Linked DNA regions of Homo sapiens: region 1 is linked to region 2. The links are contacts of gene promoters, found by promoter capture Hi-C in blood cells and fetal thymus (Javierre and others, 2016). All regions are on one chromosome and are shown on one strand. Each heading gives the region's core, a stretch centred on a gene start or on the middle of the fragment in contact. The rest is flanking DNA. Distances are from core to core; before and after follow the strand shown.

Region 1 (5,272 bases), core at 1,867-4,366, 110 kb before region 2:
AATTTTATGTGGTTTATCCAAGTTTTAAAGCTGAACTTTCCTTTTGGTGTAAGAATTAATAGTAAGAGGCAGAACAGAGAACTGCCACACTGAAAATAAAGTATATCCCTCTAGTACCCAACACCAGCCTTGAAATACAGTTAGCGTTCCCTAAATTACGTAAATTTTTGTCAGATTAAACACCTACTGCGCTGAATACATTTTTTAAGAGAATGTAGTTCTTGAAAATAAGTGTTTTTAGTCAAAATGTTTTGGGCAAGAGAGGATAGTAACATCTACCCAAATCCAGCAACAGTCCTAGGAAAAAAAAATGCCCAAAGAAGATTAGTTCTACTGGTATTGAACAGTAAGATTATTATGCTTTAGAATATGAGTTTTCATCTAAATAGGTTTGTATTCTCGATTTCCACAGAGACTGAAACCTGGTAAAATGAGCTTAAATTGCATGCAGAAATGTATAATGACTTTAGGGATTCTTCGGGTAAGATAAACAAAAATTGTTTCCCATTTTATTTTGGGTAAAATAATATGAAGAGCTAATCTTTGAATAAATCAAAAATTAATATATTCACTCTGTTTTTAATTCTATATCTTGAAGGCAAAGTAACCCAAAGTCAAACTTTTATAGTAGTGTGTACAATAGTTATTACTGGTGTAAATTTTAACAGTTGTTACTGCTGATTCTTTAAAAATATGTGGCAAAATGGTTATGATCAAGAACTGTGGGTTGGGGGGGAGACGAGGGTTAAACCTCCTACAGCTTTAGATCTTGACCAAATTACTTATCCTTCAAATCTCTGCTTCATCACGTACTATGACGATAATTGGAGCATCTATCTGAAAGGTTGCTGTGAGCATGAAAAGATTAAATGATACTGATCATAAAGCATTGTGCCTGAAACAAAGTGAGTACTTGATAAATGGCAGCTATAATAATGATAATCATTACTATAAGTTTATCCAGTTGTAATCATTTTAGCTACCTACTAGAAATACGTATTATTTACAAAGCAGTCTTCTTTCAGCCAGGCATGGTGGCGTGGGCCTGCCTGTGGTCCCAGCTACTCAGAAGGCTGAGGTGGGAGGATCGCTTGAGCCCAGGAGGTCGAGAATTCAGTGAGCGTGATCGCACCACTGCACTCCAGCCTGGGCGACAGAGTGAGCCTTCGTGTCTAAATAATTAGTCAACTGGACGGGCACGGTGGCTCAAGCCTGTAATCCCAACAATTTGAGCGGCCAAGACAGGCAGCTCACTTGAAGTCAGAAGTTCAAGCCTGGCCAACATGGTGAAACCCCGTCTCTACTAAAAATACAAAAATTAGCCGTGGTAGCGGGCGCCTGTAATCCCAGCTACTCGGGAGGCTGAGACAAGGAGAATCGCTTGAATCCGGAAGGCGGAGGTTGCAGTGAGCCGAGATCGCGCCACTGCACTCCAGCCCGGGCGACAGTGCGAGACTCCGTCTCAAAAATAAAAATAATTAGTAAATTAATTCATTAATTTAAGAAAAAAAGCGCAATCTTCTTCCAAAGGCGATCCCAAGGCTGTTGGAGGCTGAAACCGCTAAGTCGCCCCCTACCGCGCGGGTGGCTTCGTCCCGGACCCCTCCAGAGGCTGTGCCACTGCTGGAGGTGCTCAGCGGGGCCGGGACCCGCTTGGGGCGCCGTCCGGGGCGAGCACCGGAGCCCGACTGGGCTGAATGGCAGGTCCTGACCAAGCCACCCGCGCGGCCCCGCCCGCCTGGCGGGATGAGTGACGGCGGCAACAGGTGCAGAGCGGCGTCCGCGGCTTCTCGGGAGCCCCCGAGTTTTGCGAGTCAGGCCCCGAGAGTCAGAGTTTGACTCTAGAACCTTCTTCGCTTTACACCAGTCTTCGGAAGTCGCCCGTCAACCGGCTTCTTCTACCTCAGTAAAGCCTTAAGGTCACCTCAACCTCTCGAAACCCACCAGTCCCAGAGGCCGACTCTTCTCAAGTGGAGGAGAGGGGAAGGCGTGCATGGAGCTTTGCCTGACCGCTCGCTCTCTCCTCCCCAGCCGTCTGAGAGAAGGCGAGAGGGGTCCCAGAACCGAGCCCTCGCTCCGCACGCCCCACGCCCGCCCCGCTGTGCCGTGCGCTCTGCCCCTGAGACGCCCCGGCTCGGAGTCCCAGGGCCACAGCCGAAACTCGCCCTCCCGCGCCCCTCTCCGGCTTGCAGCGCCCGCCCGCACCGCCACCTGCCACCCGAGGCGACGCAGTCCGCTTCTCCCCACCCGCCAGGTGGCAGGTTCAGGGCCGGGGTCCGAGCCTGCTTCCCTGCAGCTGCCACAGCCACCCTCGCCGCCAGGGGGCGAGAGTCCCAGGCAGGACAAGCAGCGCTGCTGCCTTGGCGTGAAGGTGGTTTCAAACTTTAGGCTTCTTTTCCCTACCCCGCGTCTCTGAAGAGCAGAGAGGAAGATGGAAACCGAGTCCGGGCCGGTGAGTACGGCGATCAGGGCCCCAGGGCGCGGGATAGCGGGGAGAAGGAGCAGCGTGGAGCCTGTCCCTGAGGGCTTGGAGGGGCGAGGTGAAGGCCCCAAACGCTCGCTATCTGGTTGGGAAGAAACGTGGCCAGGTGCCCCATCGACCGCTGCCAGGAGCCACCCGCCCGCAGACCTCGTCTGGCTGTGTCATGGGGGTCAGAAAGGCGCCGCCACGGGGCCTGGACTGGGTGTAGACGGGCCAGGGGACCTCAGGCGTGGATGTTTCGGGAGGCGGCGGGCTGCCAGGCACCCAGCGAAGTCCGAGCAGGTAAACCGCTTTCCCGCCGAAATTGGGCTAGGCAGCGTCTTTGACGCTCCCTGCGGCCGAACTCGACCCAGCCGCCCAAGGCGAGGAGTTGCCAGGGCGGTCGACGCCTCCACTCCCCGACTGGTCAGCGAGGACCGGAAGGTCTGAGAGACCTGGCAGGGCCCGCCTGTGGCCCAGGCGGGACCCGGACACTCTAGCCCTGGCTGTGCACCCAAGCCAGTCAGGGTGGACTTGGGGAAGTGAAGGAGGACTGCCCGCACAGGCCCGAGGCGCAGCGGCAACGTGCCATCCCGCCCCGCCCCGTCCCGCCGCCAGCAGCCAATCAGGGAGCGCCGCGCGAGGGTGGGGACCAGCTGCGCACGAGGCCAGCGGCGGGGTCGCTGCCGTTGAGGCTTCCCGCCACTGCTGCTGGCGGATTTGTGGGGCAAAATTTCTCGCTGGCTAGCCTTCTTTTCCCTCCCGCACTTTGGTGGGGAGGGGGTGGATCCTCGTTTCGGTGCCCAAGTTCACGATGACCCGAGAGAACTCGAGGAAGTTGTCGCCGCGGCCATTTCCCCCAGTGCCGCAACTTGCTGGCCTTGGAGGGGGAGGAGCGCCGAGGCAGTGACTGCGACGGTTAGCCCGCCCGTTCCTGCTGTCTTCGTTTGCAAAATAGATGCTAGATCTCGAGGTTGATTCTCAAGGGGAGGGGCCAGTGAGGGCACATTGCTTTGGAGGAGTAGTTTAATAAACTCTCTAGTGCTGGAAGTTTTAGCAAACGGAGGAGCCTTCAAACCCGGCAACAGTCCCCATCTAGGTGTTTCCGTAACACATGCGGAATTATTGCTAGTGGAATTTCAGGCTTTCTTTGTTGTTTAACTCAATGCATCGCTAATTGTTTATAATGAACTTAGATGTTGCCTCCACCTGAGCCTTGCTATTGCTAACATTAAAATATTTTGTAGGCCTGGCGCGATGGCTCCCGCCTGTAATCCCAGCACTTTGGGAGGCCAAGGTGGGCGGATCACGAGGTCAGGAGATCGAGACCATCCTGGCCAAAATGGTGAAAACCCATCTCTACTAATACAAAAAAATTAGCTGGGCGTGGTGGTGCGCACCTGTAGTCTCAGCTACTCAGGAGGCTGAGGCAGGAGAATCTCTTGAACCAGGGAGGCGGAGGTTGCAGTGAGCCGAAATCACGCCACTGCACTCCAGCCTGGCGACAGAGCAAGACTGTCTCAAATATATATATATATATATATATATATATATATATATATATATATATATATATATATATGTATTAGACTGCTGTTATACTGTATTCTTTAGCCTTCAGCCTATTTGGCATATCATGAGCAGGTCTCTCCTGAAGAAATGATTCACTTTTAGTCATTCAACAGATATTTATTGAGCACCTGCTGTGTACTGTCAGTACTTTAGATGCTGCCATGAAAAAAGCAAAACTTCTGCCCTGGTGCATTACATAATAGTGGAGACAGATAATAAACATACTAAGTAAACTATATCGTATGTTAGAAAATGATGAGGGAGAAAACTTAAGCAGAGCGAGCCCACAATAGAGCCTTAGAGAGTGGAGGAGAATGAAGTGAATTGAGTGTGAAAGGTTGTTTTTCTTTTCTCAGGGAGTATCCTTTAGTTTCTCGAGATTGGAAATAAAGCACTGTTTACTTCCGTTCATTTCATCCTTCTCTCAATGAAATATAATGGGGTTTGTCTTTTACTTAAACTTGCGAACATATTAGTACATCTTATTTTCAATAAGAGAATTTCATGAAGAATGATTTTTTAAATTTAGCAAATAGGTAATTTTGACACTGTAAACAAATGGGCAGAAAGACAAGATTACATCTACTAGAGCTGTTATATTATCTCTAGCAATACAAAATCCATAGTTGAAAAATACTAAGCATTCCAGAATTACCCATTCTGAGCATTATATCCTACTGAGCGAAGTGACTGAAGTCACAAATAACCTCCAAGTGCCCAGAGAGAAAGCTGTTAAGATTAGATTCCCAGTTTCTTTCATTGGAAACTACAACATAGTAATTATTAAATGTGGTGGCTTTTCTGTGTTTTAAAAGAAGTATTTACATATTCCCTTATTAGGAGTACATACTTCCTTAAGGCTGGATGGGGAAGAGAGCCCATAAGGTCCAGCCTATAGCCCAATTGCCACTCCTGCCCTAGTCATTTCTCTGTACATCTTGCAAAGATTAATTTAGGGATTGTGATTGTATTGGCCAGAGAAGAAAGAGCAGAACAAATTTGAAAAAGAACAACTTTATTACCTGAGCTGGAGATTCATTTTCATGAGTTTGTTTCTCAGAGAATTGGAATTATGAACTTCAAGCTTTTGTTATTTTCTTTTTCTTTCTTTTTGAGATGGGGTCTTTCTTTGTTGCCCAGGCTGGTCTCGAACTCCTGATCTCAAGCAATCCTCCTGCCTCAGCCTCCCAAGCAGCTGGGATTACAGGCACAAGCCACAACACCCAGTTTACTTCAAGT
Region 2 (5,091 bases), core at 2,286-4,785:
GCATAAAAGATATAGGCAAAATATGTGGTAACAACTGATAAAACTTAAAATATATAAGATTGATACCTTAAACAGTTTTATGGCCAACCACATATTTAGATAAGTAATACACATGAGTTATTTAGCCATTAGAATGCATTTTCTCTGCTTATTGCTTCGTAACTGATTTCTTTGTCTTGAACTCCTGGCCTCAAGTGATCCTCCTGCCTTGGCCTCCCAAAGTGCTGGGATTACAGGCATGAACCACTGTGTCCATCCTCTAACTGGTTTCTTGTATGTAAACTACTTGACCATTTATGAAGTAGAATCTAAGTATTTAGGAAATAATCCAAAGTGAGGAAAAAAGTAACCCTTAGAAAAATCTTCACAGTAGAAGTTTGAAAATGACCAAAATGTTACTTGGTAAGCATTGTATTAATGCAGTGAAATCCCATGTAATTGTTAAAATAGCAGGAATGTGTGCCATATTGATAAATGAAAATGTTTTAAAAATATTGTAAGAGTCTAATTAAATTTTATTTTGTTAGAATTTGGAGGAGAAAATTACTTAAGTGATTGTTCAATTATGAACTTAAGAAACTATAGTTCCTTTTCCTAAAGGTAAAAATAATTCCTTAAGGACCTACTGATGTACCACATTCGTTCAGTCATCAGCTCTCTACTGGACTATTGCATTTACCCTCTTGACTGGTCTCCATTCTTGCTCTAAGTAAAACCATCTTCCTGAAATCAGCCACAGTAACCAATCTAAAAGGCAAACTGATATCACTTGCCTACTTCAGACTCCTCACTTGATTATTCCATTTGATTATTTGATTCACCTTTGTTGCCTACAAAATAAAGTCCAAATTCCCTTTGTATGGTAGACAAGTTCATTACAGCTTACCCCTTGCCTCCCTTACAGCTTAGTCTTTTCTCACTTTTTATGTTCTAGTAATTGTCAACTGTTTCGTGTTCCTTCGACATGCCATACTCTTTCATGATTCCATGATTTTGCTCATGCTTTTCTCTTCTGGCACATGCTACCCACCTTTCTTTATCACCTTAAAAATATTTATCCTTGAGGACAACTCAGACATCATCCTCCAGGCTGAGTTAGAGGCCCCATCTTGAGTTTCTATAGCATCTTTTGCATACTTTTATTTCAGCATCTACCAAATTACATTGAAATTATCTGCAGATAAGTTTGTATTCCCCATTACACTATAAGTTTCTTTAGGGCAGAGGGCATGTTTAATTATCTTTTGTACCAGCACCTAGTTCAGTGGCTGGAATATAGCATGCATTTAATAAATATAATGGGTACTTAAATAATCTTCCAGGCACTTCAGTAGATGCTAGTGACCTTCAAAGATTCCATTTCTGCCATACAGGACCTCACAGCCCACCATACCAAAGAGGATACGGAAAATGACAGGCATGAAAGTACTGTGAACAGTCAGATGAGTCACACTGGGTCAGAGTTGGCTGTCTTTTTAGTCAAATTGCTTACCACCGACAGTGCTCATCCTGGAGCATGAAAGACTGTGGAATTTTTCTCTAAGACTTTTCTGAGAAATAAAACATTTAAAGGCAAGGAGGCAGTAGGAAAAGAAAAAAGGTAATAGTGATCTATAAAATAAAGGATCCATCCCCCTTTTGAGAGTTTTCATGCTCAGGCTTCAATGTGATTGAAAAAATTTTTCAGGCTTGTATTCTCTAGAATCTCAACTGTGATAAGGGTTTATTTTGTAAATAATGGAAGCAGTGGCAGAATCACTTCCTTCCTATTCCTACTCCCAACCTGTTTTATAACGTACACGCATCAACAAATGTATTTTGTGCTATTAGCCAGGCCTAGTGTTAACATATGAGATAAGATTATCTCATTCAGCCTTCATAACAAGCCTATGTAGTAAGTACCATTTACAGGGGAGGAAGTTGAAACTTGAAGAGGTCAAGTAACTTGCCCAAGATTACATCTCTAGTAGGCCTAAGAAGCAGGATTTGAACCCAGGCAGCCTGATTCCAGGGCTCACAGTTTTGATGAGCGCACCATACTTCCTGACCTGTAAAGGGTAAAATACAATAAACGTTCATTACAATTGGTCCATTATAAATTATTCTTGACCTCCGGTAAATGGCAGTTTATAAGACTGAATGGCCCTGGTGCAGTGACTCACACCTGTAATCCCAGTACTTTGGGAAGCCGATCCAGAAGGATCACTTTAGCTGAGGATTTCAAAACCAGCCTGGGTGACATAGTGAGACCCTATCTCCACAAAAAAATACAAAAATGAGCCAGATGTGGTTGCATGTGATTCTGCCACTGCTTCCATTATTTACAAAATAAACCCTTATCACAGTTGAGATTCTAGAGAATACAAGCCTGAAAAATTTTTTCAATCACATTGAAGCCTGTGGTCTCAGCTACTTGGGAAGCTGAGGTGGGAAGATGGCTTGAGCCCGGGAGGTCGAGGCTGAAGTGAACCATGATTTTGCCACTGCACTCTAGCCTAGGTGACAGGCAAGACCACATCTCAAAAAAAAAAAAATTAAATGAATCAAGTTGTCAGTTTTGTTTTATTTTTTAATTAAGGATACTTTGAGACCTATAGAAGTATTAGTTGCTATCATAAGCCTTCTAATAGTAGAGTGTTTTAAACTATTTAAGGATGTTGGGGAAACTAATTACACACATAACTGTCTCTCCTTTGCAATTAAGTAAAGTCTTTTTTATAAAAATATTTTAATATAAATTTTTTATACTTTGCTGTTTTAATTAGCATATGATTTTTTCCAACAGAAAGAAACTTCATATGGAAAGAAATCCTCAAAAGTACTAACTAAAGACTTAAAGGGCTGTTTTTTTAAACTTTACTTTCCTCCTTTTAGACTCCAGAAATAGTTTCCTCATAAAGCTGACTTCCTTTCTGGAAATGATTTTTGTTTCTAAATATGTTGAGAATCCACTCTTTTCATTTTTCTCTTTCTTTCTTTCTCTCTCTCTCTTTCACTCTCTCTCTCTCTTTTTCCCTCTCTCTCTCTGTCTCTCTCTCCACCCCCCTACTGCCTCTCTCTCTCTCTCTCCTTTTTCTTTCTTGGTAGTAGTTGAGAGGAAGGAGGGTAGGCGCAGGACAGAGAGGAGAGGGAAAACAGAAAAAGAATTGTGTGCCACTATGTCTGAATATATCTTCTACTTGTAGATAATTACATCCAAGTTGCCCTTTTGCCTTTTTATTTCCGTTTTTGGACACCTCTTTTTATCATCCAGCCAACTGGAATAGACAAAGCACCGCTGGTGCCCTGAGCGACAGAACTCTGGTAGGGGGCTGGCTGTAAATTGACGTGGCATGGAAATTCTCCGCTAAGTTGTAGCAGCTTGCATGTTTCTCTAAGATCAAGCCCAGCCTCCTGGAGCTGTAGCTTAATCATGGGTTCAATGACTTTACAGAAAAATGGATAGAAAAATTCTTCAACTCCTTTCTTTGGACCCAGATGGTTTTTTTTGGGTTTTTTTTTTTTTTTTGGTTTTTGCTTTTTTTTTTTTTTTTGGTTATCTATAGTTTAGCTGAAAACAAAATCAAAGCAGTTAAGTCTGTAACTTTCTTTTTGCAGCTTAAACAACAGAATTTGCTGCTCTCCCTCCCCTTTCCTGCAATTTAATTCCTTACAGATTTTGCCATGGGGTGCGGACTTAGAAAGCTAGAAGACCCTGATGATAGCAGCCCTGGAAAAATATTTTCTACCCTGAAGAGACCGCAAGTGGAAACAAAGACAGAATTTGCTTACGAATATGTATTGCTGGATTTTACTCTACAAGGTACTTTTTGCTTCTATTTTGTTTGTTAAATGTTTCAGAGATGAGACTACTAGTCATTTTTAAGTGTTGACTTAATAAATTTTTAAACTGTTCTTCATAATGAGATTGTATATTCAAACAATAATGCTTCGCTTCTTAATTATACTTTGTAAGATTTTTGTTTTGTTGATTGCTTCGTATTTTGGTAACATGGCTCATATGTACCTTCTAAAATTAGGGAAATTGCTTGGAAATACTTCTTTCATTTTTAAATCAAATACTTATTTATAGAAGGATTTATGAAAAATGCTTGATTTCCAGGACAAATAGCTATATAGCCTTAGTGACAGTTTGTATTTTGAAAAAGATTTGAAAATCACAATAAGGTATTATGTAGTAAATATTACTTGCATCATATCGTGGAAGAGTGTTTGCTAAGACAATTCTGAGGCTTCCAATTGTGTTAGACTCTGTGATTATGGTAGTCATTTGATATTTTTGACCAAACTAAACTATAAGTTTTGAAAATGTAGTTAAAAAAAAAAAAAAGATAGCCTTCTGTAAGACACTTCCTTTGCTCAGTGCCCTGTCCCTAACAGAGAAACTCTCTGTTCCAGAAAGTTGGAAACACAAATAAACAAGCCCAGATGGCAGCTCTGTGGAAGGAATCGAGGTGGCTCGATTTCACAAATACTTTGCCTCATTTCTTTTGGAAACTTTAGAGTACTGTACAACTGCACAGACAAAGCAGCTTTTTAAAAAAGCTATATCTTTAATTATGAAGTAGTAAAAATGAAATTTAGAGTGCTTTGCTTGCTGTTAAAGTTATCAGATATTAGTAAAATTCTTATTATAGTTATATTTTTAATTCTAATGAGCCACACATTTTATCAATTCACAAAAAGTTTATACTAAATTATCATGTTGAATATTATCTTAATTTTTTTCCAAATTTTTTGTTTACACACATTCTTTTCTTTTTTTTTTTTTTTTTTTTTTTTGCTTTGCTCTAGAAACAGTGCATCTTTGTGCAAGAAGCAAGAGCAGCCCATTTTTCTTTGTCAAAAATTAAGCTGGCCAGCAAACAAACTCCCTTCCAGGGACATACACAAAATCTGTACATAGACTTTTAACATGTTCATATCCTATTTTTGTTTAAAGCTAAGGCTACCAAAAGAAAAAAATTAATATTCTTAATTTCTTAATTTTCTTTTAAATTATGAATGTTAAAAATGGATTAAGATAATAGCAATTATCAGAGAAGTAACCAAACAACCGTTTGAATTTTTTCTATACTTTTTCAAAAACCT

What was found. The method cuts DNA at HindIII sites, captures the fragments that hold promoters and counts their contacts. A CHiCAGO score of 5 or more calls a contact.
Region 1: the fragment with the promoter of BOLL here is called in contact with the fragment with the promoter of RFTN2 in region 2 in 7 of 17 cell types (erythroblasts, naive CD8 T cells, M0 macrophages and 4 more); the score reaches 10.6 in erythroblasts.

The regions. Positions count from the first base shown.
Region 1 is chr2:197,783,163-197,788,434 of GRCh38, reverse strand. It overlaps BOLL (boule RNA binding protein), which reads left to right and starts at 3,116. Exons shown (of 11, transcript NM_033030.6): 1 at 3,116-3,379. RefSeq lists an enhancer at 1,711-1,940. The HindIII fragment of the contact is 5,410 bases long and covers 1-5,119 here.
Region 2 is chr2:197,674,031-197,679,121 of GRCh38, reverse strand. RFTN2 (raftlin family member 2) reads left to right here and starts at 3,535. Exons shown (of 9, transcript NM_144629.3): 1 at 3,535-3,802. The coding sequence starts at 3,664. The HindIII fragment of the contact is 18,558 bases long and covers 1-5,091 here.